Regions from separate parts of the Homo sapiens genome. Here region 2 is linked to region 1. Evidence: promoter capture Hi-C in human tissues and cell types (Jung and others, 2019). All regions are on one chromosome and are shown on one strand. The core of a region is centred on a gene start or on the middle of the fragment in contact, and the rest is flanking DNA. Distances in the headings are between cores, read along the strand shown.

What was found. Contacts are between HindIII fragments. The study calls those that stand out against the background at their distance.
Region 2: a fragment that was not itself captured here is called in contact with the fragment with the promoter of RFC5 in region 1 in 2 of the 25 tissues and cell types used here (mesendoderm cells and thymus).

The regions. Positions count from the first base shown.
Region 1 is chr12:118,014,581-118,018,130 of GRCh38, forward strand. RFC5 (replication factor C subunit 5) reads left to right here and starts at 2,123. Exons shown (of 11, transcript NM_007370.7): 1 at 2,123-2,312. The coding sequence starts at 2,248. RefSeq lists an enhancer at 1,831-2,000 and a silencer at 2,365-2,414. The HindIII fragment of the contact is 13,218 bases long and covers 1-3,550 here.
Region 2 is chr12:117,853,305-117,856,763 of GRCh38, forward strand. KSR2 (kinase suppressor of ras 2) reads right to left here. Exons shown (of 20, transcript NM_173598.6): 3 at 2,124-2,274. Among named protein-coding and RNA genes, the nearest start is that of KSR2, 110 kb to the right of the region's middle. The HindIII fragment of the contact is 3,711 bases long and covers 1-3,459 here.

The DNA.
Region 1 (3,550 bases), core at 873-3,372:
TATCACAAGAACTGCATGGGGGAAACCGCTCCCATGATCCACTCACCTCTCTTCCTGGACACCTGGGGATTACAATTCAAGATGAGATTTGAGTGGAGAAACAGAGCCAAACCATATCAGCCACCCTTTAGGATTTTACCCCAGTGTGAAGCCTGCGTCTCAACAATTAGATCGTTGGTGAGGAGGGTATAGCACCATTTATTTCTTTAGTAATCTTTCATAATTTTGCTTAGTTATTGTATCAGTTGTTTTCTAAAATTGTATCAGCTGTTTTCCTTTATTTTTATACCCATCACTTGTATTTTATGCCTTTTAAAAAACAGAAGTGGGCTGGGTGTAGTGGCTCATGCCAATAATCCCAGCACTTTAAGAGGCCCAAGGCAGGCAGATCACTTGAGCCGGGGAGTTAGAGAGTGTAGTGAGCCGTGATTGTGCCACTGCACTCCAGCCTGGGTGACATAGTGAGACCTTCTCTCAAAAACGAAACAGAACAAAACCCCAGGAGTGTTCAAAGACCCCAGAATTTGGCAATACATGACAAATATTTAATGTGTTTCTATAACTTTAATTCAGAGGCATCTATATCTCACCTCAGCATGTGTCAGCAAATTAATTGTAAACATGTGCTGATTTTTAGCCTTAGTATTTAAGAAAAACTTGTTAATCATTTATGATTCCCTTCCTGGAGATAAAAATGAATAAAACCAGTTTTATCTTAAAAGAAAGAAAGAAAAGTTTAAAAATGGCATGCTAATGATCTAAGCCCCCAGTGTTAAAGTTTCCTGGGAGCAAGCAGAGTAGGGGCACTGTCACATCACAAGCCCTAGCTGATCCCCTTCTTCGGGGTCCCCAGGCAGGGGCTAGGGTGAAGCCATAACTGCCATCACATACTTGCCACTGTCCCTCTGCTGTGTTCCTGAAGCAGGTGACAGTGATGTAATCCTATGCAAAGAGTATTGCTACCTCCTAATCAGAACACTGCTGACCCCAGGCCAGCCTCAAAAATCCTCCAGGATTTTTGTCTTCCTCATCATGTTAAAAGAAAAAAAAAAAGAAAAGACTTCAATATGGATGCTTTGCATGCTCATTGCTGGAAAATACAGACCAGGCCAGGCGCAGTGGCTCACGCCTGTAATCCCAGCACTTTGGGAGGCTGAGGCGGGTGGATCACTTGAGGTCAGGAATTCGAGACCAGCCTATCCAACATGGCAAAATCCCATCTCTACTAAAAATACAAAAATTAGCCAGGCGTGGTGGCGCGCGCCTGTAATCCCAGCTTCTCCGGAGGTTGAGGCAGAGAATCGCTTGAACCCGGGAGGCAGAGGTTGCAGTGAGCCGAGATAGCGCCACTGCACTCCAGCCTGGGTGACAGAGCAAGACACCAAAAAAAAGAAAAGAAAATACAGACCAACAAAAAAGAAGAAAATAAAAGTGATCTAGAATTCTCCTCGCCTCAGGAAAAAAACCTAAAATGTTGATATCGATTCTCCTCAGTATCTCAGATCACAAGGACCTTGTCCTCTGTGTTCATGAACTAGACCTTCCAGCGACACAGATTAACCCAACTGGAAGTTTCTGTTTGTTTTTCTCTGGAGTCGTTTTCTGGAGGTTGGTTCCCTAAACTTTTTGGGCGAGGGGCACGGATTCCGGAGATAGGTAGGTTGCAGTTGTGTTTGTTTGGGGTTGTTTTCATTTCCAAATATTCACCTCCCAGCTTGGGGGCCGAGAGGTATCTCAAGCCTTCTTTCGCAAAGGCATCTATATTCAAGACCCAGCCGTTTTACTCGGTGTTGTTTTTTTTCTTAGATTTTTTTTTTTTTTTTTGAGCCCCGGCAGCTTTTGTTCCTTTGAATTTAAGTGTTTGAAGCTTGGCGATGGCAGGAATTGGCTTTGGCCTTGAGATCTTAATATGTAATGATGACTGGGGCTGCAGGGGGCCCTGCCTCTCCCGCTGCCCTGCTCTGGAAGCGCCTGGGTATCTGAGAGTTCAGAGCAGGCTGGAGGGGCGGAGCTTGGAGGGACGCTGGCGGCCCGCGCCTCCGGTAACCTAGCAACCGACGCCCTAGCAACGCGAGGGGGCGGGACCGAGGGAGGAAGTCGGAAACTGGTGGCCGCGTCTCGCGAGAGTTGCTTTTGCGCGCGAACTGTAAGTGCCAGGGTCTCAGGGTCAGGTCGCGGCTGGTCACTGTGCAGGCGCTTGGGTGACGCGACGATCTCAGCGGATCTGGTCACCTTCGTCTCCCCGCCATGGAGACCTCAGCACTCAAGCAGCAGGAGCAGCCCGCGGCGACCAAGATCAGGAACCTGCCCTGGTAGGAGGAGGCCGAGCGGCGGCGGTGGGCAGAGGGGGCCAGGCGGCCGCGCGGGGAGGAGGTGGCTGGGGTGGCAGGTGACCGGACCCCAACCCGACCTCTTCCCGTCGTCTCCAGGCCTGCAGCCGGGACCGACCTGCAGAGGTTTCCCCCGACACCCCCCAGCTACCCAGACTCGTCCGTTCTGTTTAGGGCTTTTGCCAGTTCTCACCCTTTCACCCCCAGCTCCATTTGCCGAAGAAGAAGGCGGCTTTCGCACCTGGTGACAGCACAGGGGTTCGATCCCGCGTCTCCTGACGCCTGCAATGGCCTCCATGCCAAAATGCCCTCTTCCCACTCTTCAAAACCTGCGATGCGACTATTGGTCACATTTTAAACTAGTAATAACGCTCCCTGGTCAACTTTTATTGAATGGCATATTATTAGATTAGCAGACGCCCTGTTAGATGTTCGATCCTTACAAAGACCGTAGGAGGTAGGCACCGCTTCAAATTTTACACAGGAGGAAACTGCATTTTAGAAAGATGTAATGACTTCCCTATGGTCCAAGGGAGAAAATTGGCTTGGAGGTGAATCTAGGAAGTCTGAATTCAGATCTTGTACTCTTAACCATCCTACTTAAACAGCTATGTTCTCGCAATGCTTCCAAGACTTTGAAGCAATTTGGCTTGGCTTCGAAAAGCTGCAAGTTGTCATTGTCTAGTAACTAGTTCAATTTGTCTTTATTGTGGTTAAAAAAAACCCAGAAGATTGACAGTTGTAACTATTTTATGTATTTACGTATTTTTTTTTTTTAGAGACAGGGTCTCGCTCTGTCGCCCATGCTGGAGCGCAGTGGTGTGATCACAGCTCAGTGTAACCTCAAACATTGGGGTTCAAGCCATTCTCCTGCCTCAGCCTCCGAAGAACTGGGACTTTTAGAGGCGAGCTACCAAGCCCATCCTGTAACCATTTTAAAATGTACAATTCAGTGGCATTAAGTACATTCAGAATGCAGTGTACTGTTGTGGAGTCTTCCCGCTATCTAGTTCCAAAATTTCATCACCCCAAATGGAAATCCTTTACCCATTGACAGTTACTCCCCATTCTCCCCTTCCTCTAGCCCCTGGCAACCACTAATCTGCTTTCTATCTATGGATTTGCCTATTCTGGACATTTCATGTAAGTGGAATCCTACACTATGTGGCCTTTTGTGTCTGGTTTCTTTCACTCAGGATCATGTTTTCAAGGTTCATGCA
Region 2 (3,459 bases), core at 517-3,016, 160 kb before region 1:
TTTATTGACAAAGGAAGATGTTTATGACAACACTGTAATTTGGTGCAATTTTTTTTAAGACAGGACCTCACTCTGTGGGCCAGGCTGGAGTTCAGTGGTACTATCTCAGCTTGCTGCAGACTTGACCTCCAGGACTCAAGCAATCCTCCCACTTCAGCCTCCCAAGTAGCTAGGACTACAGGCGCATGCCACCACACCCAGCTAATTTTCTTTTTTTGGTAGAGGTAGAGTCTCTTTATGTTGCCCAGGCTGGTCTCAAACTCCTGGGTTCAAGCAATTCTCCCACCTTGGCCTCCCAAAGTGCTGGGATTACAGGTGTGAGCCACCATGCCTAGCCTGCAATTTTTTTTTAAAGAGAGAAAACTGCCATCTGCTTCTCACTGTGGGTAAAGAGAGAAAGTCACCTTTGGAGCAGATTTTGTATGTACTGAGTGACTGAGAGGCCCCTCCCTGTCAGCCACACTCATGTTGGGTGAGTCAACACCATTGTGCTAGAGGTAAAGAGTAACATGACCTTTACAGCTCGTCAGCCAGGAGTGATTTTGCCTCCCTGGGAACATTTTGAAATATCTGGGGATATTTCCATGTGTCATGACTTTGAGTTGGGGGATGTTACTGGTATCTCATGGGCAGAGGTCAAGGATGCTTCTAACCAAACATCCTTCAACACATAAGACAGCCCCCAGTGCATGGTCTGCCCCCCATTTTATTTTTGAGACAGGATCTTGCTCTGTCACCCAGGCTGGAGTGCAGCAGTGTGATCATAGCTCACTGCAGCCTCAATCAATGTCCTGGGCTCAAGTGATCCACCAGCCTCAGCCTCCCGAGTAGCTGGGACTACAGGCGTGTGCCACCACACATGGCACATTTTTTTGTATTTTTTGTAGAGACGGGGTTTCGCCATGTTGCCCAGGCTGGTCTGGAATTCCTGAGCACAAGAGATCCTCCTGCCTTGGCCTCCCAAAGTGCTGGGATTACAGGCGTGAGCCAGTGTGCCCGGCCGCATGGTCCCTTTTGATGCTGACTGTACCTGAATCAGGATCTGCCAGCAAGAAAAAATACAAAAGGGCACGCATGGAGGACTGGGCCGATGACCTGTTTCAAGTATGTTCTGTTTTGTTCACCGCTGCCTTCTCAGCCCTGCTGGCACCCCATAGCCACTCAGATTAGAAGACTTCTCCAGGCCTAGAACAATATTCAACAAATGCTTGTTGAATAGAGCAGGTTGAATCAAGCAAGGGCATCTGTGAGCCTCCACCTGACTCTGCCAGACTGATGCTCAACAGTGACACCTTGTGGTGGGAACTGCAACAACCGTGCTGATGGCCACTAACACTTCTCCGTGGCTGGCATGTGCAGAGCGGATCCCTTGGGACAGAAAGGCCCCAGAATTTGCAGAAAAATCATGAGGCTAAAGAGAAGCAGGAAGCCTCAGGAAGATGATATCTGATGTTCTGCTAATAAAGACAAACAGGTATCTGAGCAATTAATGGAAAAGATCCAGGAGGGATGACAATATATTTGGCCCCCAAACTGATAGAACAAGTCACAGAGGTTATTTTATTAGGTGAAAAAAAAAAAAATTTAAGCAATATGTGTGGATAATTCTATTTTTTAAAGTATACATATATCCATTTGTCAGGAAAAATTATACCAAAATGACAAGAGCAGTTACCTAGAGGGTGGAGCTTAGGGTGATTTTTTTAAAATCTATTTTCTGGTTTATGTTACAATTAATGCAAATTACTTCTGTTAAAAAAAAAATTAGAAGCTAGACATTGACCCAAAATGCAAAGCCACGTCAGAATGTCTAAAGTAAAAAGACCCTGGTCTCCTATTCACACTCAATATTTTCATATCTGGACCCTAATTATCCAGAACCAGATACCCTAAACCTCAGCGGGTCTTCCTGGGGCAAGAGTTCAAATCCAAGAGCTGCCCTTGCTGGTGTCTTCCGGCCTCCAAATCCCAGGTCCACGCTGCCTCTTCCTGCGTTTCGGATTTGCCCCCCAGGGTTGACTCTGTCTCGTCCTGGCCTGCAGTGGCGGGCACGGGATGCCGAGGGACCGCGGCAGCTGTGCTGGGGACAAGTCTCCACATCCCCGACCCCGGGGCCTGCTCACCTGACATGTGGACATTCCTGAGGCAGGAGAGGGAGGCGTTGAGGCGGGCACACTCCTCCCGGTTGGCTCCGTATTTCTCCACAGTCTCGCACACCTGTTCATCCGTCATCTCCAAGAGGTCCTCCAGGCTCAGCTGGCCGGGGGAGATTTCCTAGAGGAGGGGAGAAGGATTGTCAACCGTGGGGCAGGAACAGCATCTCTGCCTCCACGCTGCCCTGTAGTGGTGCCTAGAGGAGAACACTCCGCAGTGTAAACGCTTTGCATGACAGTGGGGTCTCCGAATCTCGGGTTTGCCACTCATTATCTAGATAACCTCTGACCAGTCGCTCAACCTCTCTGGGCCTCACTTTGCTCATCTGTAAAGTGGGACTCCTAAGTGTCCATACTTGGCAAGGTAGCGCAGGTGCTTAGTGCTATTATAATTACTACCCTGTCTGGCGTCAACACTGTGCCTGTCTCTCGAATGTTTATAAGGCAGGGCCCCATTTTTTCATGTTTGCTTGGCTCTCAGTGCCTCCCACTCTGCAGGGACTCATCTAAAATCCCAGCACAAACTCAGAGCAAGCACAGGACAAGGCAGGTGTGCTGGTGGCTGGGTCCCACTCTCTCTCTGCTTCCTCTCTTCTCTGGCTGCAGGGTCTAGGGCTCACACTGGTCTTCAGAAACCCTAATGGAAAAGGGGCTGAAAGTCCATGCCCCGTGCTGGAAATGAAACTAGGTTTGTTTTTGAGCCCCATGGGGCATGGCTTTGCATCCTAAGGCAAAGCAGAAACACTGGAGTATAGCGTGGAGTGGGGGAAAGGGACCTAGAAAAGGTAGGATTCCCAACTTAACGTGTTGGGCAGGTGAACTTTCACCGCCACCCCATGTTCCCAAAACAGTGTCTCCCTAGACCATCATATGGACACACCTCAAAATTTGTCAAGCTTCTATATTTATGCATCAGTATCTGTATGTATATATGAGTCTTCTTTTATAGCACTTACTACTCAACATTTTAACATATATTGTTATTACTTAAGGGTTTTTTGCCTTTTTTTGTTTTTTGTTTATTTGTTTGTTTGTTTTGAGACAGTCTCGCTCTTGTTTCCCAGGCTGGAGTGCAATGGCGCGATCTCGGCTCACTGCAACATCCACCTCCCGGGTTCAAGCGATTCTCCTGCCTCAGCCTCCTAAGTAGCTAGGATTACAGCCACTCACCACCACGCCTGGCTAATTTTTGTATTTTTAGTAGAGACAGGGTTTCACCATGTTGGCCAGGCTGGTCTCAAACTCCTGACCTCAGGTGATCTGCCCACCTCAGCCTCCGAAAGTAAATAAGGGTGAAATAGCCTAC